Linked DNA regions of Homo sapiens: region 1 is linked to region 2. The links are contacts of gene promoters, found by promoter capture Hi-C in blood cells and fetal thymus (Javierre and others, 2016). All regions are on one chromosome and are shown on one strand. The core of a region is centred on a gene start or on the middle of the fragment in contact, and the rest is flanking DNA. Distances in the headings are between cores, read along the strand shown. Region 1 has its middle 14 kb from the start of HDAC11-AS1. Region 2 holds the start of RPL32 (ribosomal protein L32).

The links. Contacts are between HindIII fragments. The CHiCAGO score rates a contact against its expected background, and 5 or more counts as called.
Region 1: a contact is called between a fragment that was not itself captured here and the fragment with the promoter of RPL32 in region 2, in 3 of 17 cell types (total B cells, total CD8 T cells and naive B cells). The highest score is 8.5, in total B cells.

The regions. Positions count from the first base shown.
Region 1 is chr3:13,463,085-13,469,034 of GRCh38, forward strand. No RefSeq gene overlaps it. Among named protein-coding and RNA genes, the nearest start is that of HDAC11-AS1, 14 kb to the right of the region's middle. The HindIII fragment of the contact is 155 bases long and covers 4,156-4,310 here.
Region 2 is chr3:12,837,377-12,843,087 of GRCh38, forward strand. It overlaps RPL32 (ribosomal protein L32), which reads right to left and starts at 4,189. Exons shown (of 4, transcript NM_000994.4): 1 at 4,118-4,189; 2 at 2,766-2,866; 3 at 1,973-2,154. The coding sequence starts at 2,861. SNORA7A (small nucleolar RNA, H/ACA box 7A) reads right to left here and starts at 3,074; the gene lies at 2,936-3,074. RefSeq lists enhancers at 2,549-3,487, 3,488-4,424, 4,518-4,767. The HindIII fragment of the contact is 26,906 bases long and covers 1-5,711 here.

The DNA.
Region 1 (5,950 bases), core at 2,983-5,482, 630 kb after region 2:
CCTCCCACCCAAGACATGGCAGAATACCCTCCATTTGAGATTCAGACCAAGGGCTCTTGGAGGCTGTCGGAGTGGGATAAGCGCCAATCAGGGGAGGGCAAACAGGGACATGGTTCTGAGGGGCGACCAGGAGCTTTGTTCCTGTAGATATTTAACAAATTCAAGATGGGGGTGAACAGCACAGAGAGGATGTCAGGCAGAGGTAATAGGAGGAGGCCAGGTGGGGAGGCTGGAAGCACAGCCTGTTTCTTGGGGATTAGAGAGTGTGGCTGATGTATATAGTGGTGGGGATGCTCTGGACTAGAGAGCTGGGTTGGGGGGTGCTAACTTAGGATGAGCCTCTAGTGCTATCATGAGGGGTGAGCTTGGTGAGGAGGGGAGGACATGGAAGACAGCACATCCACTAAAGCCCCACTCAAGTTGCCCAAAAAAGTGTGGCTTTTGGGTCCTAAACATAGGTGGAGACTGCCCGTCATCACCAAGAGTAGGTGCTGATTGTGTGAAAATCGTGCATGAATCCCTCGCAAACGTTGGGCTGAGCCCCTGGGTGGCTTTTCTCTCTGTTTGAAGCTTTCCCTGCATACTTTAACTCATGCGGTTTTCTCTCTTTGGGGCTAGCCAAGCAGGGAGCATATTGAAGTAATGTGTCCATCAGTGGCAAGTGACAGAAAATCCAGCTCAAACTGGTACAGAGTTTACTGACTCGGAGAACTGGCTTCAGGCCCAGCTCAAACAATGCTGGGACCCTGTCTTCCTCACATGCCTGTCTCTGACTCTCTGTGGTGGCCACGTGTGGATTAAATGCCCACCCCTGGAGAACCTCCTGGATTGAGGGGAACAGCTGGTTCCCTGAGGACAGGTGCTGGGCTGGCAATTCCACCGACTCCCACCATTCTAGGGTTCTGGATGGTGGGAACCAAATGAAGTCTGCTCATCCCTGACCGCAGAGGCATCTCCAAGGCCCAAGTCAAGGTGAGAAAGATTCCACCTAAGCTGATGACTTTGATCACCCTAGATCAGCCAGGTCTCCTCCCAAATGGGATACCTGTCGGTGGGAACGTGAAAGTCCAGTCGGTCTAAGGGAATCGCTCCAGCTCTTTCTGACGTCAAGCCCAGGCATGACTGTTTCCCAAGACTGCACAAATTTTTTTCCTGAAGCATCAAATTCCTTATCAGTTCGTAGCAGTCCAAATTCAGATTCTTGATGGGATTTCACTTTATGGAAGGATTCTGTGAAAAATAGATAGCCTTGGGCTTTTCTTACAAATGTCTTTCCAATTGCACTGTTATCTCTATTTCCCATAATATTTGGTAGAATGTGTTGTATAACCTGCTTATAGCAGGTTCTTAATAAATGTTCGAGTTTATTGCAAACTTTGCAGTCTATAAAGGGATTTAAATTATGTCCTTTCACTAATCTTTTTTTTGAGACAGGGTCTGGAGTGCAATGGCATGATCACGGCTCACTGCAGCCTTGCCCTCCTGGGCTCAAGGGATCCTTCCACCTCGGCCTCCTGAATATAGCTGGGACTACAGGCCTGTGCCACCATGCCTGGCTAATTTTTGTATTTTTTGGTAGAGACGGGGTATCCCCATGCTGTCCAGGCTGGCCTCAAACTCCTAGGCTCAAGCAATCCTCCTGCCTCTGCCTCCCAAAGTATTGGGATTACAGGGTGAGCCACTGCCTCCGGTCTCTTTCGCTAGTCTTGAGAGAGAACTAATTAGTCCTGAGAGATGACCAGTCAGTGATTAATATATCCATTTTCTACTCTGGGCAACTGAGGTTCAGAGAGGTGAACTGACTTGCCCAAGATCACACAGGCTGGGTGGCAGTTCTGGGATTCACACTCAGGACTGCCTCACCCTCAAGCTGTGCTGTGTATGCTTCATCAGGCTGCCTCCGCACAGCAGATGGAACAGAATTTTTCCATGTGGGGTAGGATTGTCAGATAAAATACAGGATGCCTAGTTAAATTTGAATTTCAGATACCAAAAAAAATTTTTGGTATAAGTATATCTCAAATACACTTACTGCATGGGACACACTTATACTAAAAAATGGTGTTGCTTACTGAAATTCAAATGTAACTCAGTATCTTGCATTTTTATTTGCTAAGCCTAGTGACCCTAATTTAGAGGAGAAACCGTAATTTAATGGTCACTGAAGCCCCTAGAGTGACAGAGGTTTCCCAAGATCACACGGGGAGTTAGTGGCAAATCCAGGATTGGACCCAGTCTTCCTGTTCCCCAGTCCCAACCCTCTTGGGGTGGTTGTGAAGCCCTCTGAAGTCCCTGGAGCAGGCATGGTGGTAAGAACAGCTGCTTTCTCTCTGCAGAGGCTGTCCACATGGCCCATCCTCTCCCCAGCTGTCCCACTGGGCAAAACCAAGAAGTGAATCCCTGCATGGAAGAGATGAGAAGAGCGAGGTCACAGCAATTTAGAGAAGATGGTGTTGATTGAGATTTCCAGACAGGGAGCACGGGCTGCTCAGGAAGCAGCTAATTAAGCAGGAGACTCCAATTAAGAAGCAATTTGGGTCTTTGCAGCAAGACCCAGCAGCCACCCAAGTGTAGCAGAGAAAACCACAGGCTCGGGTTCTTGCTCCCCACATTAGCTGACTGTGAGATCTCAGGCCAGCTATTGAGCCTCCCTGGACATCTGTTTTTTTTGACTATGAAATGAGGGGTCATGCTGCTTAATATTGAAGGACCCTGCTGACTTCAAAGTGGGCAATTCCAGGGAGTGGGAGGATTCTTTCCCTCCAATGCTGGAACATTTTCCACTGCATTCTAGTGTCTTTATCACCCTCTTTGCATTCCACTGAAGGCCAATTATTCTCTCAGTTGTAGTGGATTTGAATTCTAGTCTATAAACTAATTTGCGCACAAATCGTACCTTTCTTTATTTTTTATATCCTATCTTAATTTCTCTTTCCAGATCTTATTCCTGTAGGGTGGCAACTCAATATTTCCCTTCTTCCTATTTCTAGGATGCGCCTACACTCTCCAGGGATTAAATGTGGTGCTAAGTCATGGGTGGGAGGGGTCAGTAGCCTCCACTGAGGTATCCTCGGTACCATCTGGGCCTCAGGAGTGGTCTTTGCTGGTTGTCACGGAGATCACATTCCCATCTGCCGAGGATGCAGCCTGGCACAGTGGCTCATTCCAGCACTTTGGGAGGCTGAGGTGGGCAGATCACCTGAGGTCAGGAGTTCAAGTCCAGCCTGGCCAACATGGCAAAACTCCATCTCTACTAAAAATACAAAAATTAGCTGGGCATGGTGGCACGCACCTGTAGTCCCTGCTACTCAGGAGGTGGAGACAGGAGAATTGCTTAAACCCGGGAGGCGGAGGTTGCAGTAAGCCACTGCACTCCAGCCTGGGAAACAGAGCAAGACTCTGTCTCAAAACAAACAAACAAACACACTTCTTATTTTTATCCCTTAGTGCAAGTATCAGCCTGGAGCCAGCCAGGAAAACACAAAGCTCTCTCATGGAATTTAATACAGGGAATTGGTTGCTCTGGTGGTGGAGGCAGTGGCAGTGAGGTTAGAGGGATTAGTTCAGCAGGAGGCCACTCCCATTCCTAGGAATAAAGAGAAGGTAATAGGTGTGACCCAGGAGTTGGGGTGCCCCGTAGGAGCTAGAGCCGTAGGAAGGGTCTTTCTGGTAGGCGATGGGACCACCGAAGTTCCCAGGGGGACAAGGCAGAGCTGAAGCCACAGAGGAGAAGACCCTCCCTCTGCTGGAGATGTCAAAGGGCACCCAGGGGAGAAATGCCCTGCTTTATCCTCTCTTCTCACCCTCTAGCGTTCCAGCACCAGTGGCCACTGACTGAATAAGAAGCCAGAGGACAAGGGCAGGGCAGAAGTGGACCCGAGTGCCTGTGGGCAGTTGACCAGCATGCTATGTGTGGCTTTTATAAGTAACAAGGGTCAGTGTTTACTTATAAACCTGGGCTCCACTTAGTTTTCTTGGTTAAGATACACATTTCTCCTTTTCCTCGGAGGCATCCGGGAATTAACTTCTCTTAACTGCAAAGTACTCTACTTGTTGGCTTAACTATTTCCCTATCCTTTGGCATTTGGGTCCATTCCAGTTTTGTTGCTTCTACAAACAAAATAGATAGGAAGACCTTTTATATGCAATGATTTAAGCTTTCTCTTACATTCTTCCTTTCAGCTCAATTTTCCCAGGATGGGTCCTTACATGTCATCCATTAAAAATTTTTTTTTCTGAGAGAAATAACTTCAGTGTAGTGGAAATGGTTCTGCATTTAGAGCCATGCTTGCTACGTGAGAATGCCTGGAAGCTTTATTTTTCTCAGCTTAAAAAAGAGCATCACTCCTGGCCCATCTTCCCGGCAGCATTTGAGCAGATGGGCCTCATCACTGATATCAATATGATGCAAACCTGTGTGATGAGAGGCTGGTGACATCAAAGATGATAAGGACAATGAATGTTGTAAGATGGGGACCAGTGGGCATGTCCTCGAGTGCTGGGAAGGAGCCCAGAGCCCACTAAAGCTTCATGAGCCCCATCATCCAATAACCTGAAGAGAACCATGTCTAGGCCTAACCTTGGCCGAGTTTGAGTCTCAATGATTTCCCTGCAGACTACAGACTGCTTGACCATGCAGAGTGTATTTAAATAATGAAAGCACACGCTAACACGGATGAAACACCTAAATGTAAGAGCTAAAACTATAAAACCCTTAGAAGAAAACACAGGGGAAAATCTTCATGACATTGGGTTTGGCAATAATTTCTTGGATAGGATACCAAAAGGATAGACAGCAAAAGCAATAATAGACAAATGGAATTACATCAAACTTAAACATTTCTTCACCTCAAAAAAACCAACAGAGTGAAAAGGCGACCTACAGAATAGGAGAAAATATTTACAAATCATATATATGACAAGAGGCCAAAAACCAGAATATATAAAGAAGTCCTAAAACTTAACAACAACACAATAAAAAATGAATAAGGGTCTTGAATAGACATTTCTCCAGAGAAGATATACAAATACCAACAAGCACACGAAAAGGTGCTCAGCACCACTAACTAGTAGGGAAGTGCAAATCAAAACCACAATGAAGGCTGGGCGTGGTGGCTCATGCCTGTAATCCCAATACTTTGGGAGGCTGAGGCGGGCTGATCCCCTGAGGTCAGGAGTTAGAGATCAGCTGGGCCAATATGGTGAAACCCCGTCTCTACCAAAAAATACAAAAATTAGCCGGAAGTGGTGGCACACGCCTGTAATCCCAGCTACTGGGGAGGCTGAGGTGGGACAATCACTTGAACCCGAGAGGTGGAGGTTGCAGTTAGCTGGGATAGAGACACTGCATTGCACTCCAGCCTGGGTGACACAGTGAGACCCTGTCTCAAAAATATATTTATAATAATAAAAAATTAAAAAAAACCCACAGTGAAATGTCACTTCTATTAGGAAGTGAAATGTCACACTATTAGGATTGCCACTATTGAAAAAAAAAAAAAGAAAATAACAGCTCTTGGCAAGAATGCGAAGAAATAGAACCCTTGTTCTGATGTGGGAACGCAAAATGGTATAATTGCTGTGGAAAACAGTATGATGGTTCCTAAAAAAATTAAAGATAGAATTGCCATATGATCCAGCAATCCCACTTCTGGGTACATGTCCAAAAGAAGTGAAAGCAGAGACTCCAATGGATATTTGCACGTACATGTTCATAGCAGCATTATTCACAATAGCCAAGAGGTGGAAAGAACTTAAATGTCTATTGACAGATGAATGAATACAGAAAATGTACTCTGTTCATATGATGGAATATTACTTAGCCTTAAAAGGGAAAGGAATTCTGAGCTAAGCTACGACATGGATGAATCTTGAGGACATTATGCTAAGTGAATAAGCCAGTCACAAAAGGAAAAATACTGTGTGATTCCACTTACATGAAGTACCTAGG
Region 2 (5,711 bases), core at 2,939-5,438:
CAGAAATGGAACTTAGAGATCAAACGTCAAAGAGTATTTCTATGGATCTTAAAGACTGCCAAGCTGCGCTTACAGAGCATATGCCAACCAGCCAACATGTGCACTGCAACTGAGTAATCATGTTGGCCATACAACAGGTATTGCCTGTTACAGTTCAACTCATACAGCCAACTGTGGTTTCAGTATCCACCATTAATTCCTTCGCCCATCTTTTCTAACAGAAATTTTCAGCATTTCAACGCCTGGTTAAATTTCCAATCTTGGAAGGTAACCACGTTAGAATACTGGTCTTGTTCATTTTTATTACTTGTATCTACAACCACTGTAGGTGAAAGTTATCTTTGTAAACGTAAACACAAACATCCTAGTTAGTCACACACACTCCATGTTCTTTCTAGTTTACTTAGGAAAATTCAGCTTTTTGGCTTTCATTTACCAGTAAGTGAAGAAAATAAACTGTCACTTCCCATGAGAATTTTTCATTCCACTGCCCTAGTTTTAATCTAAGCAGGTCACTGAGTCTTTTATACACAAAGCTCACCAAGTGTCTAACTTACTCAAAACACCTAGAACTAGCTGGGTGTGGTGGAGTGTGCCTGTGGTCCTAGCTACCAGGAAGGCTGAGATAGGAAGACAGCTTGAGCCCACCTTGAGTTTGGGGCTGCGGTGTGCCATGATCACAGCTGTGAACAGCCACTGCACTGTAGCCAGGGCAACACAGAGCCTGTCTATCTCTAAAATCAAACCAGGCCAGGCATAGTAGCTCATGCCTGTAATCCCAGCATTTTGGGAGGCTAAGGCAGGCAGACCGCTTAAGGTCATGAGTTCAAAACCAGCCTGGCCAACATGGTGAAACCTCATCTGTACTAAAAATACAAAAATTAGCCAGGAATGGTGGTGCACGCCTGTAATCCCAGCTCTTGGGAGGGTGAGGCAGAAGAAACGCCTGAAACTGGGCGGTGGAGGTTGCAGTGAGCCGAAGTCATGCCACTGCACTCCAGCCCCGGCAAGAGAGCAAGACTTCATCTTAAAAAACAAAAACCAATAAAACCCACCTGGAACCAATGCCCTGCAAACCCTCCATGTGCTTTCACCTCTACACCTTTGTGTAAGCACTCTCTGCCTGCCAAGTTTCCTCCTGTTCTCCATCTAATGCAAACTTTCCAGAGCCCTCCTGCCCCTGAAGATACCCCTTACCACAGCACAGACTTAAGAGCCCCTTAAGGTCTGAGGTCCATGTTTGACCTTCTCCCGCTTGTAAGCCAAAAATAAAATTCAAAGGCCCCCAGCAACCATCTGAATGCACTCCCTCCTTGAATAGGGCACTCTTGGTTTCCACAACCTCTTACTGTAGCCAAGACATTCCTTTCTAGTGATAACCAATTCTCGACGAGAAACAGAAAATCTATCCAAAACCTCGAAGTGCCGCCTTTCTGGACCAAACCAATGTATGCCTTATGTGTATTTGATTGATGTCTCATGTCTCCCTAAAATATGTAAAACCAAGCTGCTCCCCGCCCACCTTGGACACATATTCTTAGGGTCTCCCAAGGGCTGTGTCACGGGCCATGGTCAACTCATATTTGGCTCAGAATAAATCTCTTCGAATATTTCAGAGTTCAACTCTTTTGCTTGACACCTTCATAAAGAAAGCAACATTTTGGAAACAACAGCCAAAGGATATTGTAGTAGTGGAAAGTGGCTATTATTGCAGTGTTCACAAAGCAGTCTTTTCCTGGTCTTGGGTCTCTACACTTAGAAGACCAAGTCACCTCCTTCAGCAAAGGAAACACCTTGAATTCCCCAACAAGCATTCTCTAAAATCCTGCAAGGAACAACTTCTGATTCCCTCAGAGAATGTACAACACCCCCCGCCAAAATGCATCCCAAGAGTTTGTAGAGTTCCTGCCAGAAGTGCTCACACAGATGCAAACTTCTGATCACTGAAAACTAGAGGTGGGACCCAACTCACTTGTTGCACATCAGCAGCACTTCCAGCTCCTTGACGTTGTGGACCAGGAACTTCCGGAAGCCACTGGGCAGCATGTGCTTTGTTTTTTTGTTGCTTCCATAACCAATGTTGGGCATCAAGATCTGGCCCTTGAATCTTCTACGAACCCTGTTGTCAATGCCTCTGGGTTTCCGCCAGTTACGCTGAAGGAAATAATACACAGGTGGGTTAGCGTCTGTGCAGAGTGCGAACTCTTCCTTTTGGGGAGGGAAAAAAAGGACCAAATGAAAAGGAAGTATGCCACACAGTAGTTGCCTTTGGTAACAGGACTTCACTATTTCCTTACTTTTTTGGTGGGAAAAACCAGGAGCTCGTGGCTTTAGCCACTAGGGATGAAGGCACCCCCACCATTGCCACTCCCAAGCAATGGAGGAGGCACCAATGGGATGCGAGGGGACTGTGTAGATACTGAGATGGCAAGCACAGCTGCAGACACTGCTCTCAGCACCTGAGTTTTCTTGTCTATAAAATAGGGATCCTGCTGTCACAAGGCAACCCAAAATACAGGACACAAATGCAAAGCCCTCTGAACACATCAAAACGGCCAAATGTCCCTTTTCATTAAAGTTTCGCTTCACACATCAAGAGACATAAGTACCAGCACTAGGGCACACTGGGGGAGACCTGTATTTCTACAGAAAGCTCTTCCACAAGCCAGTTCATCGGTCAAAGATAATCCTGACTAGGTGATGTCAGAAACTGTTGGAAACTCTTTTCTTCACCCCACACCCATTTCCATCCCAGGACCACATACCTTAATTTTGACATATCGGTCTGACTGGTGCCGGATGAACTTCTTGGTTCTCTTTTTGACGATCTTGGGCTTCACAAGGGGTCTGAGGGCGGCCATGATGCCTTTTGGGGAAGAAGCGGCCCCAGGTGAGGAAGAATCCTGGAAGGAGGCTTTCCTGCCCAGGGACTGAACACTGTCGCAGAGTGTCTTCCAATCGCCAGCTACGGAGCAAGCTGGGAATGGAATGGGTGCCTCTGCCAGGCTTGCTTTCCCTCCCTTTCCGAAGCTGGCAGAATACTAGGCACTCTCCAGATGCGATCCCAGGAGGTCAAGGGTCACCTCACCCACTCAGAGCCCAAAGAATGCCAACAGCTGAGCAAATCAAAACTGACCCCAAGACACTCTCAATTTGCAAGGGGCAGCAAATCCCACCCCACCAGTGTCCGAACCCCCAGATGGTCCTTCCGGTAGTACTGGCCTTGACCATCTACTTGAACCTGAGTCTTTTCCTCACCTGTAAAATGAAGATGACACTGCGCGCTGAATGCCTGCAGTGCCTGTCACAGGGTAAATGTTCAATAAAACCTTCTAATTCCCTAGGGAGCTGCTGCGCTACCACACCCTCAACACACACAAAACCACCATATACCTCTGAAGATGCCTCAAACCTGGAGATCTTCCAGTATCAACTCACACCTTCCTCAGTGTGGTCTTCCGAGCCATTGATTTCCTACAGCAGCACCCCTTCTGCTCTCTTCGCAGCCATCAACTGGCCCAGAGTGGGTACTCAATGAACCACGTATTCAAAACGACTCTGCCTTCTGGCCCATGATATCCTCGAAGGCAAGGTGGGGGCAGTTGCATCTTCATATTCCCAGAGATACTACCAGAATTTCTGCCTGCAGCTGGACCAGCCGACCTACAGCTCGTCTTTCCTTGGCGGTCCCGCAGCAGCAGCCCTCGGGCCAGAGACTGCAGCGGAAGAAGCCGGCCATGGCATGAACGAATACACGTGGGCCGACATTGGTGAGCGCTGGGATCCACAGATCCCAGCTGAAAGCTGTCAAGCTGGGCCACCCCTGGTCGTCCCACGGCCCCCAGGAGACCCCGAAGTCTGGCCTCAACTAGCACCCTCCACCGCCAAGGAACAAACAAGCAGCCCGCAGCTCTGAATACAGGCGGAGGGCAGGAGGCTCTGGGACGCAAAGCCCTATCAACTCGGCGGCTTCGTTCTGTTCCTGTACACGCTCCAGTAAGCTGACAATAACAATACCCACAGACACTACCGCGCTGAAGGGGAGGCCTCCGCACCACTGGGCGACGGGGCCAGATGAATCCCGCAGGAATGCGGATTGCCACGGATTAACACTTACCGAGAAGGAGATGGCTGCCACCTCCGTAGGCAGCGCCGAGGAAGAGAGAAGGGACGGTGGCGCGCAAGGGCTGATGGGTCGTAACCCCTGGGTCCTAGCAGGGAAAAAGGCAAGCACTTCCGGCTCCGGCTCTTTTAAATAAAATAAAGACACGTCAAAAAATAATGCCGCAAAAATTCTGAGTATACATGTTTTAATAGACAATAATAACTAGGAATAGGACTGAGAAATGTATTCTACCTATCCTTGGGACTACGTAGAAATTTGGAATTCTTTCTGAGCTAATAAGACCTGGTGGAGGGAGGAATTTACTTCCGCCAGAAGTCGAAGCCAATCCGCTTTTGGGCTATTTCCGCCCGCGTTTCTTCTACTCCGAAGTGCGCCTCTTAGTGGTCAGAAGAGAACAAGACAGAGACTTCCTAATAATTTCATCACCGAATTTAGACAGTAAATAGTAACGAAAACAGCTAACATGCGATGGAGTTCACTATGCCTACCACAATTCTATAACGTACCCCTATTATTGTCTCCATTTTGCATATGTGGAAGATGAAATTTGGAGACTTGACTCCAAACTCCACGCTTCTAACCACTGGGCGAAACTGCCTAGTTTTTCTTTGTTCATTTTTTAGAAATGGGGTCTCACTCTGTTGCCCAGGCTGGTCTTGAACTCCTGGGCTCAAACGATTCTCTCGCCTCAGCCTCCTGAGTAGCTGGGATTACGGGCACGAGCTACTGCCTAGATGTTTTTTGTTTTGTTTTGTTTTTTGGTTTTTGGTTTTTTTTAGACAGGGCCTCCCTCTGTCACCTAGGCTGGAATGCAAAGGTGCCATCTCACGGCTCACGGCAGCCCCTGCCTCCCAGACTGCCTAGTTTTTAAAGATGCTCTTGATTTGTTTTGCTTAGCTTTTGTATTTAAGATTATTGTGCAAATTGGCTGAGCACTATGGTTCACACCTATAATTCCAATACTTTGGGAGTCTGAGGTGGGAGATTTGCTTGAGCCCAGGAGTTCAAGACCGGCCTAGGCAACATAGTAAGACCCTGTCTCTACAAAAAATAAAATAATTAGCTGGGGCTGGTGGCGCATGCCTGTAGTCCCAGTTACTCGAGAGGCTGAGCTGGGATGATCACGTGAGCCCAGCAGTTCTAGACTGCAGTTAGCTGTGATAATGCCACTGCACTCCAGCCTGAGTGACAGAGCAAGACTCTGTCTCAACAACAACAAACCTATAAAGACAAATAACCCAATTGAAAAATGGGTAAAGAATCCAAATAGACATTTCTCTGTGGCCAATGAACACATGAAATGATCCACATCATTAGCCATCAGGGAAATACAAACTGGAACTGCAGTGAGATACCATTTCACACTCACTAGGACAGAGAAATGGGAATGTCCGTACAGTGCTAGTGCAAATATGAAATGGTGCAGTCACTTTGGAAAAGAATAGCATTTCCTCAAAATGTTAAACATAAAGTTACTGTAAGACCCAGCGACTGGGCGCGGTGGCTCATGCCTGTAATCCCAGCACTTTGGGAAGCTGAGGTGGGCAGATCACCTGTGGTCAGGAGTTCGAGTCCATCCTGGCCA